Regions from separate parts of the Homo sapiens genome. Here all the other regions are linked to region 2. The links are contacts of gene promoters, found by promoter capture Hi-C in blood cells and fetal thymus (Javierre and others, 2016). All regions are on one chromosome and are shown on one strand. Each heading gives the region's core, a stretch centred on a gene start or on the middle of the fragment in contact. The rest is flanking DNA. Distances are from core to core; before and after follow the strand shown.

Region 1 (4,123 bases), core at 1,320-3,819, 2.4 Mb after region 2:
ACTAGAAGCCATTAAACAACTACAGGAAGATGCTGTCAACCAGGAAGGCATCCTTAGGAAGAGGCTCCAAGAAACCAGCCAACGGCTGGAGGATGTGGAGGAGCAGGTAGGGTGGCTCATGGCTACATTAGATTCAGGGGACATCTCCTCAGATGCCCTGCAAACCATGAAATAAAAATGGAGGAGGAACAACAACAACAAACAAAAAAAAAAAGCAAAGAGGAACTGCAAGTTCAGTCCCTAGCGACTAACAGTGAGCAGAGGAAGTAAAGGGGGAGTTGTAAGAGAGGCGGTATCAACAGCCTGCTGATGAAAGAGGCGACTCTGCAGAAAGAGGCAACTTGACATATCAGGACTTTAACCGCTGTAGAAATAGCTCAGGCATACCAAGCCCATGCAAACACAGAATTGCAGAAGTTCAGGAGAGGCTTATCACTTCCCTGAGAAGAAAAACACATTTTCAGTTTTGCCTGCATCATAAGAGTGAGCACTCCATTGCTTTCTTTCCTGGCCACACTGCTACAATCCAGCACTAACTATCCATGTCCAGGGTAAGGATCGAGATCGAGAAGCCCACACTGCCAGTGAAAAAGCTACGTCTTTACTGCATAAATTAGAGGAAGCAATTTCGGAACAACGGAACCTTCAAACTATAAATACTGAATTATCGAACACTTGCCAGGCACTTCAGCAGAAGACAAGGAAACTGAAGAGTGAGTAGCAAATATTCATTTATGACCCAGTTTTTGTCCACCCTCAGGCGGGGCATAGGACTACAGACATTTTTCTAGATTACAGCTAGGATATTATTCCTGAGTTTATGACAATGAAATGGTTTGAGAAGGCAATATTGTGGGGCTTTCAGAGAGGTTTGCTGAGTGGCTAGGTGCATGCATGGGTTTAACCATTAACTTCCCTTTTTGCCTTTTTATTATAAGCTGGTTTTGTCTGTGGCTGTTTTTTTCTTTTAAAATTAATTAAAACTTCTCAAAATTTCTAAAAGTAAACAAGGAGAAAAATCTAGTATGCATGGTATATTTGAACTTGCAAGTTGTTATATATTATACTCTGATTTTATTAGCTAGTTTTTTTCCTCTCATATGGTAGAAAAGGCCTTGCTCGTCTATTTTCTTTGGAAATTTTAGGGGGTTGGGCAAAATAATTATGAATTCAGTGTATATCAAAATATCAAATGTGTGAAAATTCTTTTAAAGTTTTAATGCATTCTCTACATACATCTACATACATATTTTGCATTTTAAAAATTGGAATATTTGTCATTTTTCTGTATTACCCAAAAGTATATAAACAGTTACCAGAGATTTATGTGAGAAGACAGTTGTCACATTACAGATGTCAGATTAGCTATAAAATTGTTTCATTCTAGAAACCTAATATGGTAAAAATAAACCTTACTTATTTAGCCATTTATCAGACAATTGCTTTTGTTCAGCCAGTTTCTTGTTCTAGCAGTATAAATATTCTTTTTATAGAAAGTTACTTGGTTTGAGAAATAAACATTGTTTATTTGTTAATTGTTATATAATTATAAATAATTATATATTTAATATATAAGCTTAAGGTAGGCTAGAGATGAAAAATTTCAGACTTGTGTTTGTTTTGGATTTATTGTACCCTTTCTACTATTATCTGAGAAAGCTATTTAGGAGTTTAAGAAATAGTCTAGTTTTAAAATAGCAATGGTTTGCCGGACACAGTGGCTCACCCCTGTAATCCCAGCATTTTGGGAGGCCGAGGTGGGCAGATTGCTTGAGCCCAGGAGTTTGAGACCAGCCTGGACAACATGGTGAAACCCTGTCTCTACAAAAATTACAAACAAATAAATAAATAAAACATTAAAATAGCAGTGGTTATTCAACATATTATTGTCATAATTTTTAAACCTTTATTGAATTTGCCAGTTTTCAATATTCTGATTCACTCTGTTAAGCTAGTAAGGCAGTCTTTAAATTACACAGTCTGTGTGTTATTTTACTACTGCTCAGAGGGCATTGGAGAAGGTTCCCTTGTGATTAGAACTGTTCATGTTGAGACATGAATCATAAGGCATTCCAAAGTTGGTTTAAGGTGTGTCTGCTTTAGACACTGTGCCCAGGACTATTCTTTTGCTCCAGTTTTGCCTTTTGATTAAATCAATATTATACCTGAGTTTTATAAACTACTAAGAATTTGTTCCCCTTCCTCACTGTGATTTTCTTGCAGTATTTTCTTAGAAGAGTCAACTTTAATAACTTACCCCAAAGTGCACGTTCTTGATATTATGAACTTGCTATTGTTGTCTTCCCAGTTTATCTTCACGGCCCAATAGATTCAAATACACTTAAAAGCAGAATATGAAAGCTGCCCTGGGTTGATACGTGTATTTTTTTCTGCCTGGATAACGTAGAGTGGACACTTCCTTTCTGTCTTGAGTTATGCATAACCTGTCCAGATTTATGAAATCCCTTACTTGTTACTTGTATCTTTTGCTGCCCAAAAAACCCATACAAATCAGGATTTTGCTTATATGACCATGTACTTACGATCTTTCTAACAATGCCCTTTAAATTCAATCTTTGAGAGAAGAGGGAAATTTAGATAGCACGTATTTTCAAAATGTTCTATATAGCAGATGTTCCAGATAGACTGCAAACAAATGTCAATGACTGCAGTTATCACACAAACACGTCCACGCACATCCCGCCATGACCACTGCCACCCCATGCTGTTTGATTTCTGAGTCAGACATCTGATTCTGAGTCAGAAAACAAAACATATTTATATCTATTTAGCTTTTCTGAAACTCTCTGGCTAGTTTAATAAATTCACAAAGTATTTCAGACAATTGTTTTCTGATCCATCTAAGTTGCATCAGCACATTGTGTGGGGATGCAGCTGGTTTGTCCAAATGTTCAGATCAATGTGCATAATGTTCACACTACAACTGGAAATTTATATGTGATGTTTGATCAGAAATCCTGAACTTTATCTTGAATAAATGATATTGTTCAAGTTTTCAATTGCCTTCAGGACTGGGCTGATTTATGAGGCAATTCATGTGCATGATATTCTTCAAGAAATGTGCCATGAAAACTGTTCAATTGCTTGAATGGTTACTTATATATTTTATTTCTTCTGCATCTAAACTTTGTTTATATCCAAGTATCTTGTTAATAGACACATGACTGGATTATAATTAGTGTTTGCTTTAAAAAGGAAATTTTTTTTATTATACTTATGTTCTAGGGTACATGTGTACAACGTGCAGGTTTGTTATATATGTATACATGTACCATGTTGGTGTGCTGCACCCATTAACTCGTCATTTACATTAGGTATTTCTCCTAATGCTACACCTCTCCTATCCCCACCCCATGACAGGCCCCAGTGTGTGATGTTCCCCGTCCTGTGTCCAAGTGTTCTCATTGTTCAATTCCCACCTGTGAGTGAGAATATGCAGAGTTTGGTTTTCTGTCCTTGCGATAGTTTGCTCAGAATGATGGTTTCCAGCTTCATCCATGTCGCTACAAAGGACATGAACTCATCTAAAAAGGAAATTTTTAAAAGCTTATAGGATGTGTATATAACATATTAGGGTGAATCTTATGTACAGAAATCATGGACTAATTGATACAATCCAAAACTATCACCCCCTTACTATTCACCATCTCTTGTTCCCATCTGACGTGAAATCTTCATGGAGTCAGTCTTCTCATAGACAATGAGAGAATTACCTTTAAGAATCACAAATTTTTCCTTGAAAAGAGATCCTGGGAAACTCTGATATAGCATAATTTCTTATTTGAACGTAGTATCTGCACATGAACTTCCTAGTTTAGAGGAGACTTTCACCTAGATAATATCACTGCAAACACTCTTTTAGCTTGCTATTCTTAGCATGGAGGGCGGGAGGTATGGCAGAGGTAAAACCCTTAGGGCTTGGAGCATGGATTCAAGATGAAAGCCGTGTCCTAAGCAGTCAGTAAACAGGAGGGAAATGAGCCAAAGAAGGCGGGTGAAGGGATCCAGGTGATTGAGATACTTAAAGATAGAAGGTTTTGGGGTGACGGCCAAGGAGAAAACCAAAGCCAAATACAGCTTGCTCAACAACTCTGATAGGATA
Region 2 (4,050 bases), core at 1,550-4,049:
GGCCAGGCTGGTCTCAAACTACTGACCCCAAGTGATTCACTCGCCTTGGCTTCAATACTACACTGTCTTGATTATTGGAACATATACTATTTTTTTTTCTTTTTTTAGGCAAGGTCTAATTCTGTTGCCCAAGCTTGAGTGCAGTAACTTGATCATGGCTCACTGCAGCCTCAATCTCTTGGGCTCAGGCAATCCTCCTGTCTCAGCCTCGGAGTAGCTGTGACTACAGGTGTGCACCACCACACCTGGCTAATTTTTTTTTTGGAGAGATGAGGTCTCACTGTGTTGCCCAGGCTGGCCTTAAACTCCTGGGCTCAAGCGAACCTCCTGCCTCAGCTTCCCAAAGTGCTGGGATTACAGGCATGAGCCACTGCACCCAGCTATACTGTCTTCAAGTCTGTCTGTTTTCTCACTTTGTTTTTCTTTAATATTGTATTGGCTATTCTGGCTCTTGTGGCTTTGCATGTAAACATTAGAACTGGTTTGCTGATATCCACAACATAACTTGAGGTGATTAGAATTGAATCAGTAGATCAGGTTGATAAGAACTGATATTTCTTGCACATTTTTAAAGTTTTGCTTTTAACATTTAGGTTTCTAATCTTCCCCAAATTAATTTTTATGCATAATAAGAGGGAGGGATCAAAATTTTTTTCTCATACAAAAAGCAATTGTATCACTACGGTTCATTGATCAGTCTGGACTTTCTCACTAATTTTTAATGCTACTTTTGTTATATACAAAGTTCTCATATGTGTGTAGGTTTTGTTCTGGGACTTTATTATGTTCTAGTAGTTTATTTGCCCATACCTAAACCAATATATAATACATCCTGGTAGGGTTGGTCCTCCCAATATATTCCCTGATCTTACCTGTCCCTATCCTCCTCTCCCCAATTACAGCGCTTTTCTTGGACCTTAAGTTTTGATATGAATTTCAATGTCATTTTAACAAGTTCAGTAAAAAAACCCTTTTGAGATTTTAACTGGAATTGCATTATATGTACTGATTAGTTCAGGGAAAATTGAGGCCTTTACATTAATCTTTTCTCATTTATGAATATGGTTCATTTCTCCATTAATTTTATCCATGGATCCTGTACATTTTCGGTTACTTTTGTTCTCAGGTACCTAATAGTTTTTTTTTCTTTTCTTCTACTTGTTAATGGACTCTTATTTACCATTACAAACTAGTGCAGTTTGCAACATAATTTTCAATTAAATTGTTTTACAGTTACATAGTTTTAAAATTCTTAAAATGTCAACTGCTTAATAAAAAATACAATTTATACAAAAATACAAGAGATACTATCTGAAATGTGAAAGTAGTAGTATATTTATGATTTCTCCCCAAAGTGGAAGGAACACACACTCTAATGTTTCTTGTAGAAAATTATGCCTAAATCTGGCAGGGCGCGGTGGCTCACGCCTGTAATCCCAGCACTTTGCGAGGCCGAGGTGGGTGGATCACCTGAGGTCAGGAGTTCGAGACCAGCCTGGCCAACATGGTGAAACCCATCTCTACTAAAGATACAAAAATTTGCTGGGCGTGGTGGCACGCGCCGGTAATCCCAGCTACTCGAGAGGCTGAAGCAGGAGAATCCCTTAAACCCGGGAGGCGGAGGTTGCAGTGGGCCAAGATCGCGCCATTGCACTCCAGCCTGGGCGACAGAGTGAGGCTCCGTCTCAAAAACAAAACAAAAAAAAACAGAAACAAAAAACAAACAAAAAAACCACTAAATTTGAAAAATGTTAAATCAACTTCTTTGCTGTATTATAAAGCTCCATTTCCACCCCTCTTTTTAGTTTAGGAAGTTTACCGTTATCGGTGAAGTAATTATTTTGTTAATTACAAAGGTAAGTAGGTTCTTTCTGAACAATCAGGATGTAAACTTAATGCTAGTGAAGTAATTAAACATTTTGAATGTTAATTAAACTCAGTCCAGTTAAGGGTTTTATTTACTACTAACAAACGTATTCACCGTGTGCTAAGTGCTGCAGGGAATCCCAGCCCGTTTTCCTCCATCTAAAAGGAAAATTAGGAGGTCCCAATACTTTACTTGTAGATTTTCCAGTTTCTACCATTCCCTGTAAGGCACTGAGACGCAAGATTTCAAGGCCCACTCGGGGTACCCTGGCATGGACATCGAGTCGTTCTAGCGCTGAGCTTCAAAACTATTCCTTTCCTTCCCTTTCTTCTTCATACCAGACTCTAATCTGTTCTCCCTAGCTTCGAATTATTCACTGTATGGTCGAACATCTTACTCCACAAATAACCTCTGAAGTGTTGCAGTTGTCTTACCCAAATACCTGAACTCAGCTTGTCCCGAGTACTGCGATCCCGCGTACTGCTAATGGGAATATAGTTAACCCAACTAGTATGAGGTCCCCAGTACACAGCAGCTCCAAGATCAAGGCGACCGAGTAACACTGCTTGCCTAGACTCAGGCCAAGTTCGGAGAGTGATCCTGGGGTTATTTTAGAACGTGTCCCTTGCTTCCCAGAAAAATTCAGTCGTTAACTCAAGTCCAGATGCCCAATGACCATTCGGATAAGGTGAGCTAAAGCTTCAATGCCTTGAGGGGCTTGGCAGGGCTCGGGCTCATCCCGGAGAAGCAGCCCCGCTTTCCAGACTAGCAGTTCCCAGGGATGGGTGTGTGCTAATCGCAGGCCAACAAGCCCAGCGCGGTACAGAGGTCCCATTGTGACCGGAGGCGAGAAACCCCGCCTCGGCACCCTGACGCAGCGCAGGACCCGCCCCGCGCGTGACGCCAGCGTCAGGCCAGCCCCGGCATGCTCTGCGGCCGCCCGCGGTCCAGCTCCGACAACAGGAATTTTCTCCGAGAGCGGGCCGGGCTCAGTTCAGCTGCTGTCCAGACCCGGATCGGCAACAGTGCCGCCTCCAGACGTTCTCCTGCCGCTCGCCCGCCCGTCCCAGCGCCCCCAGCCCTCCCGCGAGGGCGCCCCGGGACGGAAGGATCCACCAGTCTGTCGGCGCCCGCCGTTCTCGTGGTCGCCGTCGCCGTCGTCGTGGTGGTAGTCTCCGCCGTCGCCTGGGCCATGGCCAATTACATCCACGTCCCTCCCGGCTCCCCGGAGGTGCCCAAGCTGAACGTCACCGTTCAGGATCAGGAGGAGCATCGCTGCCGGGAGGGGGCCCTGAGCCTCCTGCAACACCTGCGGCCTCACTGGGACCCCCAGGAGGTGACCCTGCAGGTAACGCCCACACCTCAGCTCTGGGTCTCTTATGCCCCTCACGCGGCTCTGGGGGTCCTCACCACAATCGCCTCTGTCCCACGATGACCGAGGAGGACCTAGGGCAACATCTCCTTAAGTCTATTGGGAAGTGACCCTGTATTTCCCCTCACACCTAGGAGGGTCACTCCCCCTTCCCGTCGCAGTTGCTCTTTGAGATTGACCTGAGGCACATTTTCTCTTTCTAGAAGCCGCTGCGTAAGTGACGGACCCATCCACGGGGGGAGATTCCTGCTGATAGTTGCCCCTCCTCCCACTCCCCAGTCCACGGTCACTGCAAAATGAACCTTTCCACTCCCCTTGCACGGGGTCCTCGTCTACCTCCTCCCCTCCCACCAGTAATGCAGTCATTAATCCTCTCTGATCTTTCCTTCCTCTCCCCTCCCCCTGCGATGTGCTTTCATTGATGCCTCACACTGCGTTTTGTCTTCCCAAACCCTAGCGTACTCAATTCCCAAAGTAATGACCACGACCATGCATCGCTAGGTCGGTTCTTAGGCAGCACCACACACATTGTTTTGTTTGAGTCGATATTTCTGAATTATTAAAGTCGTCTTACTGAAATTAATACCTGATACTAGAAGGAGCAGTGGCTTGTGACTGTTTCCTTTTCATGAGACACCGTGTTGATAGAGAAAAAATTGGGAGGAAAAAAATCCCTGAGACTCTAGGAGTTTTCTAATAAGTTGGAAGTTATGATTTCCACTACGTGATTTTTTTTGAATACTAATCTGTTTTTAGCTTTAGTTTCAGGAACTAGATACAAAAATAGATCTCTTTTTCTCCTTTTCCCTTG
Region 3 (4,513 bases), core at 664-3,163, 2.1 Mb after region 2:
CAGTGACCTCTCTTCCCCCGCCCTAGCCCAATTTTCTTTCTACTCTAAAAATCAGAAGCAAGATTCCAATCCTATATTTTACCCTCTTGCTAATCATGTATGTAATGCCCTGAAGTCATTTTCGAATTTCCTGTAAGGCACACACCACCCTTTCTCACCACAGAGAGTCTTGCTTGTGAGGTCAGATGGTTCTCACAGATGACATGAAGGAAAAAATTCCCAACTAATTGTCATTGCTTAAACCCTCTTCCCTCACAGTCTCCAGAGATGGGACTCTGGGTTTCACAGGGACCATTACATCAGAAGGGTCTGTCAAGGCTTTAGTTAATGAACCCAGTTGAGATCATCCCCTGCAGGGTGGGGTGCATGCAGACCCTGGGTGTGAAGGCTTCAAGGGGGAAAACCCAGGAAGTGGTCAGATGACTCAGTGGTGGTGCTTTGTTGAGTCAGACCTAGGCACTGGCACTATGATGTTCCAATGTGCAATGGGAGACCCCAGCTCTCAAAAGAATTTCTTCATGCTCATTGTCCACAAGGTCCTCATTAGATCCCAGGACCTCTTCCTTCTTGTTTTTGTCTTTTCATCATTTAACTGTGGAGTTTGTGCCTTTAGAGTCACTGTTACATCCCAGCCAAGGTGTCTATAGAAGTGAGCTGCTGTATGGAGGTGAAGTAATCCTCATACTACATATAAATGTGTAATTAGTTCAACAAATATTTATTGAGCACCTAGACTGTGTCAGGAGTTCCGTTGCTTATTAATTTGTATTGAGGTAATTTGTAACTCATATTCTCCTGAAAATATTTTCATTTATCATATGCCCTCTTTAATTAAGTTGTTGTCTGCTCTCTGAGAAACACCATTAAACAAGTATCTTCATCTTGTCACTTGAGCCAAGTTAGTTTTAGTGTAACTCATACAGAGGAGAAGAGAGGCAACAGAGAAGAGCAAGTCCTTACTCATACAGCATATTGAGTATCTCCCAGAACTGTAGAGGCAATAAGGAAAAAACTGATACGGGAGGGGTGGTGAGAATCAAATATCTGTGATATATCCATTCATCCAGATTATAAATTGCTACAATAAAGAGAGCAAATTTCCCCCAAGTCTATATTGCTTCTCAGTATTAATATAGACCTCTTTGTGGTCTTTGTGTCCAGTAAATCTCTCTTGACATTAAAGTGCTTTTTAAAAATTTCTGCTTTAGTAAAAGTATTGTCTCAATGACAAAATACTAGCCCAGAAACCAGGTCTAAATTCAATGAATTCCAGTAACTGTCCCTAAAAACAAATATTCTGGGAGTGATTTCTCAAACTGTGTGGACAGAATAATGGCCCCCAGAGATGTCTACATCCACATCTCCAGAACCTGTGAAAATCTTACTTTATGTAGCTAAAGAGACTCTGCAGATGGAATTAAGCTAAATGTTTTGAGATGGGGAGAATACTCTGGATTATCGAGGTGGGCCCAGTGTCATCACAAGGGTCCTTATTATAAGAGGGAGGCAAGATCTCTTGTCCCATCTCCCTATCAAACATCAGAAAGGAGATGGGATAAAAGAATCTGAGGTTGGAACCATGTGCTTTGAAGATAGAGGAGGGGGCCATGAGCCAAGACAAGCAGGAAGCCTCTAAAAGCTGGAAAAGTCAAGGAAATAGATTTTCCCTTGGAGCCTCCACAAGGAATAAACCCTGCTGATGGCTTTGTTTTAGCTTCATAAAACTCATTTCAGACTTCTGACCTTCAGAATTGTAGATAATAAATGTATAATGTTTTAAGTCACTAAATTGTGATAATTTGCTATGGCAGCCATAGGACATGTGTATTTGTATGTGGCATAGAAATAACTCAAGCTGAATAATTGATGTCTTCTGATTTCATTCCTTCACCAAATATTTATATATTAACTACCCTGTAGTTGCTAACATTCTGGAAACTGGGGACATGAGAGTAAGCAAAATAAACATGGTTTCTGTTCAGTTTAGGAGGAGGCAGGACTTTGTTCATTATACATATGAGGAAATTTATGAATTTATCTAATGTGAAAATTAAACCAGCTGTTTATATAGGAAAACAAAACAACTGGTTAACTTTTTTTTTTTTTTTGCTTCCAATAAGTTAGGTTGGTGTCCCACTGTGACTCACTGTATTTTTATGTCATAATTGACTAGTATTACAACCATAACTGTGGTCATTTGCTAGTCAAGTTCCAACTCTGCCCCTGCTTTCTTTAAAGCCTAGTGTCACAGAGATAAATTGAGAATATTCAAGGACTTGTGATTTTTTAAATTGAATTCTCATGACCCTATGTCCAAAAAAGATGGGTATGCAAAAAATGCCTCAACAGCTAATGATGAACCAAGTACAAATACATCTTAAGCAGTCAAGGTTTTATTACAAAGAAGTTTGAGAAAAACGCTCCTTAAATATGGTCCAAAAGGGAAGAATACTCATTCTCTTTTCATATGAAGAAAAAAATATCATAATGGTTAGAAAGACTTCCTTTGCCCAATAAAGCTCATGAAGTTTAAGCTCCAGGGTCCTTCCTTCACATAGTTTCTTTCTATCCAAAAATCTGAGAGTGGGTAAAGAAATATGTGCCATGAGGGTTTTTTTTAAATAAGATATTAAGTATATATATTTTGGTTTAGAAAGCTATCTTGGCAGGGCATGGTAGCTCACACCTGTAATCCCAACATTTTGGGAGACCAAGGCAGGAGGATTGCTGGAGTCTGGGAGTTTGAGACCAGCCTGAGCAATATGGCAAAATCCCGCCTCTACCAAAAAAATAAATAAATAAATACAAAAATACAAAAATACAAAAACTAGCTGGGCGTGATGGTGAATGCCTGTAGTCCCAGCTACTTGGGAGGCTGAAATTGTAGAATTGCTTGAGCATGGAGTTGCAGTGAGCAGAGATTGTGCCACTGCACTCCAGCCCAGGCAATGGAGTCACATCTTGTCAAAAAAAAAAAAAAAAAAGAAAAGAAAGAAAAGAAAGAAAAAAAGAAAGTTATCCCTCTTTACTCCAACTTTCTGTTCCACTTTTCCCCATTCCAATGATGTTGGTGTGGCCATGGTTGTTTCTTGAATCTTCCAAGGGGAGGTTGGGTGGAGGTGCACATTTTTTTGGTTCAGTGGGACATGTTGATGTGGTTTGAAGCAATATTCATGTGTAGTTGGCACATTGCTAGCCATTTTAGTGTAGTGTTGAGTTTTATTTCCTGCCCACTGTGCCGACTCTCCTGGTGTTGTGCCATGAGGTACAGGTCAGAGGTTCTATTGTGATAGGAACAGGTGCCATGACACCCAGCACTGAAAGCGTGTGGGTAAGAGAGAGCAGCCCAGGTTTGAAATTGATGGAATCACAAGTTAGTCTGAGAATAAATCTTCTGTAACATGTAAATGTATAAGTAAAGAATTGAGTTTTTCTTAATTCTTAGTCATAATAGAAGTTCTATTCTGTCAGGAATATCCTTGATGTGGTTTGGCTGTGTCCCCATCCAAATCCCATCTTGAATTCCCATGTGTTGTAGGAGGAACCCAGTGGGAGGTAATTGAATCATGGGGGCAGGTCTTTTCTGTGCCGTTCTTATGATAGTGAATACGTTTCACAAGATCTGATGGCTTTACAAGGTGGAGTTTCCCTGCACAAGTTCTCTCTCTCTTTGCCTGCTGCCTTCCATGTAATACGTGACTTGCCCCTCCTTGTCTTCCACCATGATTGTGAGGCCTCCCCAGCCATGTGGAACTGTAAGTCCATTAAACCTCTTTTTCTTCCCAGTCTCAGGTATGCCTTTATCAGCAGCATGAAAACAGACTAATACAATACTTGATAATGTTGTATATACAACTACAAATACACTACACATTTTTTTTTTTTGAATATAAAGTTTGTGAAATAGAAATTGTCAGAATTCTGGTGTTGATATGGCAAAAACCTGTAGTAACGCTGCCCAAAGCAAGCGTGTCTGTGTATAAAGTTGCCAATGTTTTGTACATCTCAACTAGCAATTAAATAAAAATCTATCAACCATCCTAAGGAAAGGGCTGACTTTTTTATTGTTATAGAAAAAAGCATTGAAAATTAAATAGGAAAAAAAACTGAGGAAAAAAGTATTAACAAGGTTATACTCATTAAAAAATATGATTCCTATAGATTTCAGGATGTTTGTGTACTTGTTAGCTTTCTGACATTTGTCACTTGATATGATTTCATGTCTCATTCTAAATAAATAAATACATCTAATTTTGTATTTATAACTATATATTTCTTAAAGTTATTCCTCCCAAATGCTTCAGTTTGGGGTCCTGGAGCCACCTCTGCCAATATGTAGAAAAGGAGTTGAGGCACCCGATCAGGGAAAGCTTGCAACAGGTTCTGCTTCATCCTCAAGAAACCAGGGCTCTGAAATCTGATGCACAGGGCTTGTGCAAGCAATGCTCCCAAATGAAGCTCTTTCTTCCACTTGGCATCTGAACTTGATCAAAGACAATGGAATGGAATACTG

The links. The method cuts DNA at HindIII sites, captures the fragments that hold promoters and counts their contacts. A CHiCAGO score of 5 or more calls a contact.
Region 1: a fragment that was not itself captured here is called in contact with the fragment with the promoter of ETNK1 in region 2 in 1 of 17 cell types (M2 macrophages); the score reaches 5.9 in M2 macrophages.
Region 3: a fragment that was not itself captured here is called in contact with the fragment with the promoter of ETNK1 in region 2 in 3 of 17 cell types (M2 macrophages, M0 macrophages and M1 macrophages); the score reaches 7.5 in M2 macrophages.

What each region holds. Positions count from the first base shown.
Region 1 is chr12:25,052,244-25,056,366 of GRCh38, forward strand. It overlaps IRAG2 (inositol 1,4,5-triphosphate receptor associated 2), which reads left to right and starts at 463. Exons shown (of 22, transcript NM_001366544.2): 1 at 463-713. RefSeq lists an enhancer at 1-337. The HindIII fragment of the contact is 1,991 bases long and covers 1,575-3,565 here.
Region 2 is chr12:22,622,372-22,626,421 of GRCh38, forward strand. It overlaps ETNK1 (ethanolamine kinase 1), which reads left to right and starts at 2,800. Exons shown (of 8, transcript NM_018638.5): 1 at 2,800-3,215. The coding sequence starts at 3,060. It overlaps ETNK1-DT (ETNK1 divergent transcript), which reads right to left and starts at 2,675. Exons shown (of 4, transcript NR_135030.1): 1 at 2,302-2,675. RefSeq lists enhancers at 2,445-2,514, 3,045-3,214, 3,234-3,923. The HindIII fragment of the contact is 2,136 bases long and covers 2,565-4,050 here.
Region 3 is chr12:24,719,226-24,723,738 of GRCh38, forward strand. All of the region lies in intron 1 of LOC124902897, which reads left to right. Among named protein-coding and RNA genes, the nearest start is that of BCAT1-AS1, 98 kb to the right of the region's middle. RefSeq lists an enhancer at 479-538. The HindIII fragment of the contact is 4,909 bases long and covers 1-4,368 here.